Regions from separate parts of the Homo sapiens genome. Here region 2 is linked to region 1. Evidence: promoter capture Hi-C in 16 types of primary human blood cells and fetal thymus (Javierre and others, 2016). All regions are on one chromosome and are shown on one strand. Each heading gives the region's core, a stretch centred on a gene start or on the middle of the fragment in contact. The rest is flanking DNA. Distances are from core to core; before and after follow the strand shown. Region 1 holds the start of OR7E24 (olfactory receptor family 7 subfamily E member 24). Region 2 holds the start of LOC105372270 (a long non-coding RNA gene).

What was found. The method cuts DNA at HindIII sites, captures the fragments that hold promoters and counts their contacts. A CHiCAGO score of 5 or more calls a contact.
Region 2: a fragment that was not itself captured here is called in contact with the fragment with the promoter of OR7E24 in region 1 in 3 of 17 cell types (total CD4 T cells, non-activated CD4 T cells and total B cells); the score reaches 5.9 in total CD4 T cells.

The regions. Positions count from the first base shown.
Region 1 is chr19:9,249,178-9,253,428 of GRCh38, forward strand. OR7E24 (olfactory receptor family 7 subfamily E member 24) reads left to right here and starts at 1,753. Exons shown (of 1, transcript NM_001079935.2): 1 at 1,753-3,448. The coding sequence starts at 1,867. The coding sequence ends at 2,886. The HindIII fragment of the contact is 19,830 bases long and covers 1-4,251 here.
Region 2 is chr19:9,707,968-9,712,218 of GRCh38, forward strand. LOC105372270 (a long non-coding RNA gene) reads left to right here and starts at 1,693. Exons shown (of 2, transcript NR_187774.1): 1 at 1,693-2,025. RefSeq lists a silencer at 173-373. The HindIII fragment of the contact is 1,954 bases long and covers 788-2,741 here.

The DNA of each region.
Region 1 (4,251 bases), core at 503-3,002:
AGGACATTTAATTTTTGCCCTTATATAAGTAAGTACTGAGGATTGTGAGAGGAATATTTGAGTTTCTTTCAACTCTGATTTCCCAGAGCCTGTATCTTGCTTGGTACAGAGGAGACACCAAAAATTAGAATCTCTGTTACATATTGAATAGACCCTTCCTTAGTTCACAAAACTGGCTGTGATCAGTGTGACTTCAACACACTCACTGCTTTCCTATCTGTACTTTCATTCCTTCCAGGAATGTGTCACAAACTAGGCAGAAGGTAAAATAGCACTTTTTTGTGTCTATATTATGGACACATAATAATAGCATCTACAACATTCAATTACTTAAAGACCATGGCAGAGATTTTTACAGGCATAAAAAAAGAGAAAAGGATGCAGAAGGAAGTGGGGGCAGGTAAACCTTATTGTTTAGATCAAGATACATTTTAGAGTTTCACATGATTCCAGCCACAACGAAAGTAATGCCAAAGTATTTTAACATTACCTTGGCCAGGCACAGTGGCTCACACCTGTAATCCCAGCACTTTGAAAGGCAGAGGTGGGCAGATTACTTGAGGTCAGAAGTTTGAGACCAGCCTGGCCAACATGGTGAAACTCCATCTCTACTAAAAATACAAAAATCAGCTGTGCATGGTGGGGCGTGCGCCTGTAGTCCCAGCTACTCGGGAAGCTGAGGCATAAGAATCGCTTGAACCCAGGAGGCGGAGGCTGCAGTGAGCTGAGATCATGCCACTGCATTCCAGCCTGGTGACAGGCTCAAAACTTCGAGACTCAGGTCTTAAAAAAAAAAATTAAAAGCATTTTAACATTATATTAATGTTCTGTCATCCACAGGTACGTTGCACACTATCAACATCTTTGCTATCAGTGATGTCCTGGTAATTATGTGCATTTAACTAAACCTTCCTTTTAATTACTTATTGATTTAATAGTCAAGGTCTCACTCTGCCACTCTGCCTAGAGTGCGGTGGTATGATCATGGTTCAGTGCAGCCTCGAACTCCAGGGCTCAAGCGATTCTCCTGACTCAGCCTCCTGAGTAGCTGGGACTACAGGGCGGCGCCACCATGCCTGTCTAATTTTTTAGTTTTTTGTAAAGATGGGGTTTTGCTGTGTTTTCCAGGCCGGTCTTAAACTCACATCCTCAAGCAATCCTCCTGCCTTGGCCTCCCAAAGTGCTAGGATTCCAGGTGTGAGCCACCACCCTGGGCTACTTTCTTATCAAAACTCCAAGTCCACCTAAGGCAAGGACAGGAATTATAATTAAGTGAATTTTAAAAGAAAGCCCACATATTTGAGTGAGTACTTACTTCCATGAAGAATGAAAGTCAGAAAACGTAAGAATGATGGAAACCGTAGAATATAACTGGTATGTAAAGATGTTTTCTGGCTATGAACTATGAACTTTCATTGAGTTTTGAGACAACATGATCCTAGATCTCATTGAGTGTTGATAAATATCCTCAATCAATGGAATTTGTAGAATTGTATTAGAATAAAACAAGACATAGCTGACTCCTTCTTAGTATCCTTTCAATGGATTTAATCTTTTTCTTAAAGGGGCAAGAATATTTTTGTTGTATATTTTTTCCTGATAAATTAGGCTATATTTTACCGTGATCATGGATTTCTAAAATCTCTAATGTTTTTGCTCTCCTAACATTCTTCAATAGACTGTCTCTAAGTTAAGTGTATACAGAAAGAGGTGAATAACACAAAATCAATTATGAAGTAACTCTAAGGAAATTGGGTTTGTCACAACTGAGAACTATTGCTGAGGGTGTATAATCCTATGTGAAAACTTAATTTCTTAATTGCTTGTATCCAAAATATAGACACAGTGCTAGATGCTGGTTTACTTATGTCCTATTTTCCAATTCTCTTTTTTTTTTTCCTCAAAAGGTGTCCGAGCTACACAGAGCCACAGAATCTCACAGGTGTCTCAGAATTCCTCCTCCTGGGACTCTCAGAGGATCCAGAACTGCAGCCGGTCCTCGCTGGGCTGTTCCTGTCCATGTACCTGGTCACGGTGCTGGGGAACCTGCTCATCATCCTGGCTGTCAGCTCTGACTCCCACCTCCACACCCCCATGTACTTCTTCCTCTCCAACCTGTCCTTGGCTGACATCGGTTTCACCTCCACCACGGTCCCCAAGATGATTGTGGACATGCAAACTCACAGCAGAGTCATCTCCTATGAAGGCTGCCTGACTCAGATGTCTTTTTTTGTCCTTTTTGCATGTATGGATGACATGCTCCTGAGTGTGATGGCCTATGACCGGTTTGTGGCCATCTGTCACCCCCTGCACTACCGAATCATCATGAACCCACGCCTCTGTGGCTTCTTAATCTTGTTGTCTTTTTTTATTAGTCTTTTGGACTCCCAGTTGCACAATTTGATTATGTTACAGCTCACCTGCTTCAAGGATGTGGACATTTCTAATTTCTTCTGTGACCCTTCTCAACTCCTCCACCTTAGGTGTTCCGACACCTTCATCAATGAAATGGTCATATATTTCATGGGTGCCATATTTGGCTGTCTCCCTATCTCAGGGATCCTTTTCTCTTACTATAAAATTGTTTCCCCCATTCTGAGAGTTCCAACATCAGATGGGAAGTATAAAGCCTTCTCCACCTGTGGCTCTCACCTGGCAGTTGTTTGCTTATTTTATGGAACAGGGCTTGTAGGGTACCTCAGTTCAGCTGTGTTACCATCCCCCAGGAAGAGTATGGTGGCTTCAGTGATGTACACTGTGGTCACCCCCATGCTGAACCCCTTCATCTACAGCCTGAGGAACAAGGACATTCAAAGTGCCCTGTGCAGGCTGCATGGCAGAATCATCAAATCTCATCATCTCCATCCTTTTTGTTATATGGGATAGAAATGGCAGCAAAATTTAACACCTAGGCCTGCAAATTCTGCCTCCTTGGTCACATTATTTTGGTTGCTTGATGGCTTTCATTCCTCTCTGGGTTTCGTATGTGAATATTGCTTGCTTTGTTTTGTCTTTAATTGCAATGGGTGAGTATTCTGGTATCCTTTGTTCATCATACACATCATGAATGATTCCAATATACCTAGACAGCCTCCTTTAGTATCTGTGCAATGACCTTGATATCCAGGTGCAATCACAATCTTTTCTGATAGACTTGAAATCCTCACTTAACTTTGTCAAGAGGTTTTTGGAAACTGCAACTTTAAAAAAAAAGCGCAGCAGGTCCTGAAATAAGTTCATTTTGTTCAATGTTGTTTAGTTTTAATTTTGGTGAGAAATGAATAAATTGGTTTCATGGTTCATCGTTTTGCTTGAATTGTGGTTTCTAATTTTCTGTGGAGGATGTTAAGTGAGGACTTATCGTACTTCGTATTTACCTCCCTTTCTACAGTTCCTGTGTAATTTCTGTCCAAATCGCATCTAGGAAATCACTTTAGGCAGCTTACGTATGATGATGTCTATCAATGGTCCTCACATTTGGTTTTATTGAAATCACCTGGGGACCTCACAAATACTGAGGCCTGGGTGTCATTACCAAAATTTACTTGGACCTGTGTGGGTTGAGGAATTTTAAAAGCACCAGAAATAGTTCAGGTGATGATGTTTCTAAAGGGACGGAGCTACAATGGGTAAGTTACAAAAGAATGTAGCACCAGGCAACGTGATTCATTCAAATATCTTCTTAAAACGCATTATTGTTCAGCACTGTAGAAATTTACATTATGGCCGGGCGCGGTGGCTCACACCTGTAATCCCAATACTTTGGGAGGCTGAGGTGGGCAGATCGCCTGAGGTCAGGAGTTGGAGTCCAGCCTGGACAACATAGTGAAACCCCATCTTTACTAAAAATACAAAAATTAGCCAGGCATGGTGGTGCGTGCCTATAATCCCAGCTCCTCGGGAGGCTGAGGCAGGAGAATCACTTGAATCCAGGAGGCAGAGGTTGCAGTGGGCTGAGATAGTGCCATTGCACCACAGCCTGGGCTACAGAGGGAGACTCCATCTCAAAAAAAAAAAAAAAAAAAGGAAAAAAGGAAAAGAAAAAGAAAGAAAGAAATTAACATTATGTTGTTTTTTTACCACTATAATTTTTATTGTACATTTATTCAGCATATATTTATACACATACAGTTTTTTCTCCTCTTTCACTCTTGTGCATACATAGAAAGGGAAATAGAAAAGAATAACATGGTAACAGTATCACTGTAGCTTCACATTCAGAGACTAATTTTTGAAATTTGCTATAGTTTT
Region 2 (4,251 bases), core at 515-3,014, 460 kb after region 1:
GACATAAGTAGCAAAAATAAGAGTGAGAATTCCCACTAATAAAAAGTGAGAGTCTCAAAGCCGGGAAATGAGAGAAGACAGACCCTCTCATATTGTTTTATGTTGTTTTATACTCAGAAAAAGAAAGAAAAGCAAAACTAAAGGCAGGTAGCCTGGTGCCTAGGAACCAGACCCTAAACCAGGCCTAAGCCTGGTAGTTAAAGATCGACCCTTGACCTAACCAGTTATGTTATCTATGGATTCCAGACATTGTATGGAAAGGCATTGTAAAACTTCCCGGTCGGTTCTGTTTCACTCTGAGCACCGGTGCATGCAGCCCCTGTCACGTACCCCCTGCTTGCTCAATCGACCACGACCTTCTCACATGGACCCGCTTAGAGTTGGGAGCCCTTAAAAGGGACAGGAATTGCTCACTCGGGGAGCTCGGCTCTTGAGACAGGAGTCCTGCCGATGCTCCCGGCTGAATAAACCTCTTCCTTCTTTAGCTCCGTGTCTGCGGAGTTTTGTCTGTGGCTTGTCCTGCTACATCACCAGGGCTGGAGTGCAGTGGCATGATCTCAGCTCGCTGCAACTTCCGCCTCTCGGGTGCAAGCGATTCTCCTGCCTCAGCCTCCCAAGTAGCTGGGATTACAGGTGGCCACCACTAAGCCCAGATAATTTTTTGTATTTTTAGTAGAGATGGGGTTTCACCATGTTGGCCAGGCTGGTCTTGAACTCCTGACCTTGTGATTTGCCCATCTCGGCCTTCCAAAGTGCTGGGATTATATATATTCCTGTAGGAGATAGAAGCTTCAAAAAATAAAAACCTACAGCCAAGCCAATAAAATAGAGCACATATCTCACCACAACTGCAAAGACAACTATGCTGACATTACTACTTTTAGTTGGTGTTGTGCTGGAGGTTAAAATCCATTCAGTAAAGCAAGAAAATATATATTTATATAACCTAATGACTGAAAGGGAAAAATAAGTCATTACTTACAGATTATCTCACTGCCTATGTGGAAAGGGAAAAGAGTCATATTAAGTACTTTGGACTGAACAATGACCCCAAAATTCATTTGTTGAAGCCCCAAACCCCAATGTGAGTGTATGTCAAAATAGGATCTTTAGGGAGTATCATTAAATGAGGTCGAGGGACACAAGGGGCTGTGGGGAGGGAGAGCGAGAGTGAGAGCACGACCCGTTTCTTGGTCTCCATCATGTGAAGACATGAGGAATTAGGCATTTACATGCCAGGAAGAGAGCTCTCACCAGAAGTGGGCCATGCTGGCACTCTGATCTCAGATTTTCAGCCTCCAGAAACATGCGAATATAAATGTTAAAAACAAGTAGTTTAGATAGTTCCTCTTCAAAGGGTTTCATTTTGTTACAAAGTGTTCCTCTGCAAGAGGTCTTTACTTCCTTGTACTGTCTGTCCTGAAGTCTTATTTCCCTGTTGCTTAAATTAACCTTGCCCACCAGTCTATCAGCCCCTCCCATCCTGCTGTGCTCAGGCATGCCCACCAAGAAGTCACCCCCTCCCTGCTGTAACAGCCTTCCCTGCCACAACTGTTCTTCCCTGTACTCTTCAAATTAGCTAACTGCATTCAGTTTAGACTGTGTGGTTCAACCCCAACCAATAGGGGAATGACACATCAACTAAGGCCAAGTGCATTAGGGATTAAAAACCCCTGCTGTCTTTTGTCTGATGAGCTCTTGCCATTGCTCCATCCACGAGACACATGCTTCTGTAGAAGTAAATTTGACTTTCTGAGAAAATTTATGTTCGACTGCTATTTCTTTTGCAGCACAAATAGTATGTTTCTAACAATTTGGTGGCCTGTACAAGGACCCCATTCTCCTCCCAGAGGGTTTTCCATCCTCTCCTGTGAGGACACATGCCCCACTGCCTCATTGCAGTAGCCTCAGGGGTAAGGAATGGAGACCCCCCTAGTGTGATGAATAAACCCGGACTCTCAGCAACATGGGAAGAAAAGACCTACAAATACCGTGGTGACCAGATAACTCTGTCCACAGACCAAGGTAAGAAATGCTGCAGGAGCTGGCAAAGTATTTCCTAGGTGGTCATGACCAAGCTAAGAAAAGCCACAGGGGCAGTGAAATATTCCTTGGTGAGGACACACCAAGGCATGAAAAACTGCGGGGGTGGTGAAGTATTCCTTGGAAGGGGTATCTTGGAAGTTAATAGTGTATGAATAAGATGCACAATTGCATGTGAAATGAGTGTTAAGTCTAGATCTGCAGTTCTGTGGTCACCTCATATGGCTTAGGGTGACCCACCTGTAAAGGAGTCCAGGATGGGGGTTTATACCAACCCACCAATGCCAAGAGGGACCTAACATGGCTAGAGAAGGATGAAGTGAAAGAAGAGGCAAAAAATTCCCAGTAGGGGGGATTGAGCCTCACAGGAACCTCCAGTAGCAAGGAAGGCAAAAAATTTCCATTAGGGGAAATTGAGCCTCACCCCATATTGCAAGAAATTTCCAGTAGGGGAAATTGAGACTTACCCCAAAAGGCAAGAAATCTCCAGTAGGGGAGATTGAGCCTCACCCTAAAACCATCAAGATGGGAAATACCCCAAACAAGGTAAGAAAAAGGATAAAGCTAGCAACAATAATATTCCCCTGATAGTCCCCTAGGCCTAATGTTAAAATATTAGAAGAATAATGAAAAGACCTTAGAGAAATGATAATTAAAAGAATTAGAGAATCTGTACCCTGTATCCAAAACATTACAAAAGCTTTCAATACACAACAAGAAAAAAATAAATGACCTATAAAATTCTGAAAAAAACTCAAAGAGCAAATGGAGAAATATGCAAATCTAGAATAGAAGACCCCCTCAGATGAGGGATGTTAAAGCTTCATTTTGTTACTAATCGTTGGCCAGATATTAACAAAATATTACAAAAAATAGAGAACCAGAAATACAGACCTATAGAAGAGTTTCTTTAAAAAGCCCAAAAAAACACCAGTGCAGTGGCTCATGCCTGAAATCTCAGCACTTTGGGAGGCCAAGGCAGGCAGATCACCCGAGGTCAGGAGTTCAAGACCAGCCTAACCAAAATGGAGAAACCCCATCTCTACTAAAGTTACAAAATTACCCAGGCATGGTGGCACTTGCTTGTAATCCCAACTACTTGGGAGGCTGAGGCAGGAGAATCACTTGAACCCAGGAGGCAGAAGTTGCAGGAGCTGAGATCACACCACTGCACTCCAGCCCAGGCAACGAGTGAAACTCTGTCTCAAAAAAAAAAAAATCCCAAACAGTATATGTAAGAAGAGAAAAAGAAAAACAAAAGCAAAAGGCAAAAATCTTGCTGTCCACCATACAACAAAGTACCAAGGGAGCCAGACATATAAAGAACCTAGACCACCACTGTCCAGGTGATATAAAATGTATGAAAGAGTAAAGCCAGGAGACTCAAAGGAAGAAAAAAAAAAGACAGAAAAATTGTTTCAAATGTGAAAAAATAGGTCACTTTAAAAGACAATGTCCCAAGTGAGAAAGAGGAAGAGACTGAGTGTGAGGGAGAGAATGCTGAGACCAGATCGGTCAGGGAGACCCTAACCCAGTAGCGCTAGAAGAATTGAAGACACACACACAGAAATATAGAGGTGTGAAGTGGGAAATCAGGGGTCTCACAGCCTTCAGAGCTGAGAGCCCCAAACAGAGATTTACCCACGTATTTATTAACAGCAAACCAGTCATTAGCATTGTTTCTATAGATGTTAAATTAACTAAAAGTATCCCTTATGGGAAATGAAGGGATGGGCCAAATTAAAGGAATAGGTTGGGCTAGTTAACTGCAGCAGAAGCATGTCCTTAAGGCACAGATCACTCATGATATTGTTTGTGGCTTAAGAATGCCTTTAAGCAGTTTTCCACCCTGGGCGGGTCAGGTATTCCTTGCCCTCATTCCGGTAAACCCCCAACCTTCCAGAGCGGGCATTGGGGCCATTATGAACATGTTACTGTGCTGCAGAGATTTTGTTTATAGCCAGTTTTGGAGCCAGTTTATGGCCAGATTTTGGGAGGCCTGCTCCCAACATGTCCCCCTTCTTTGATTTGCAGATTGATAAAAGCAAAGGAGCTTTGTCATGGTGAGCTACTTCTCATAGGAGTCAGGATCTGCATCTGAAGACTATACAAAGATAAATAACATGGATTAAAAGCACAATCATCATTGAAATTACAGAGCTTCCAAGTGTTTTTATCCATTTTAATGGGTTACTAGCTGCTAATTTG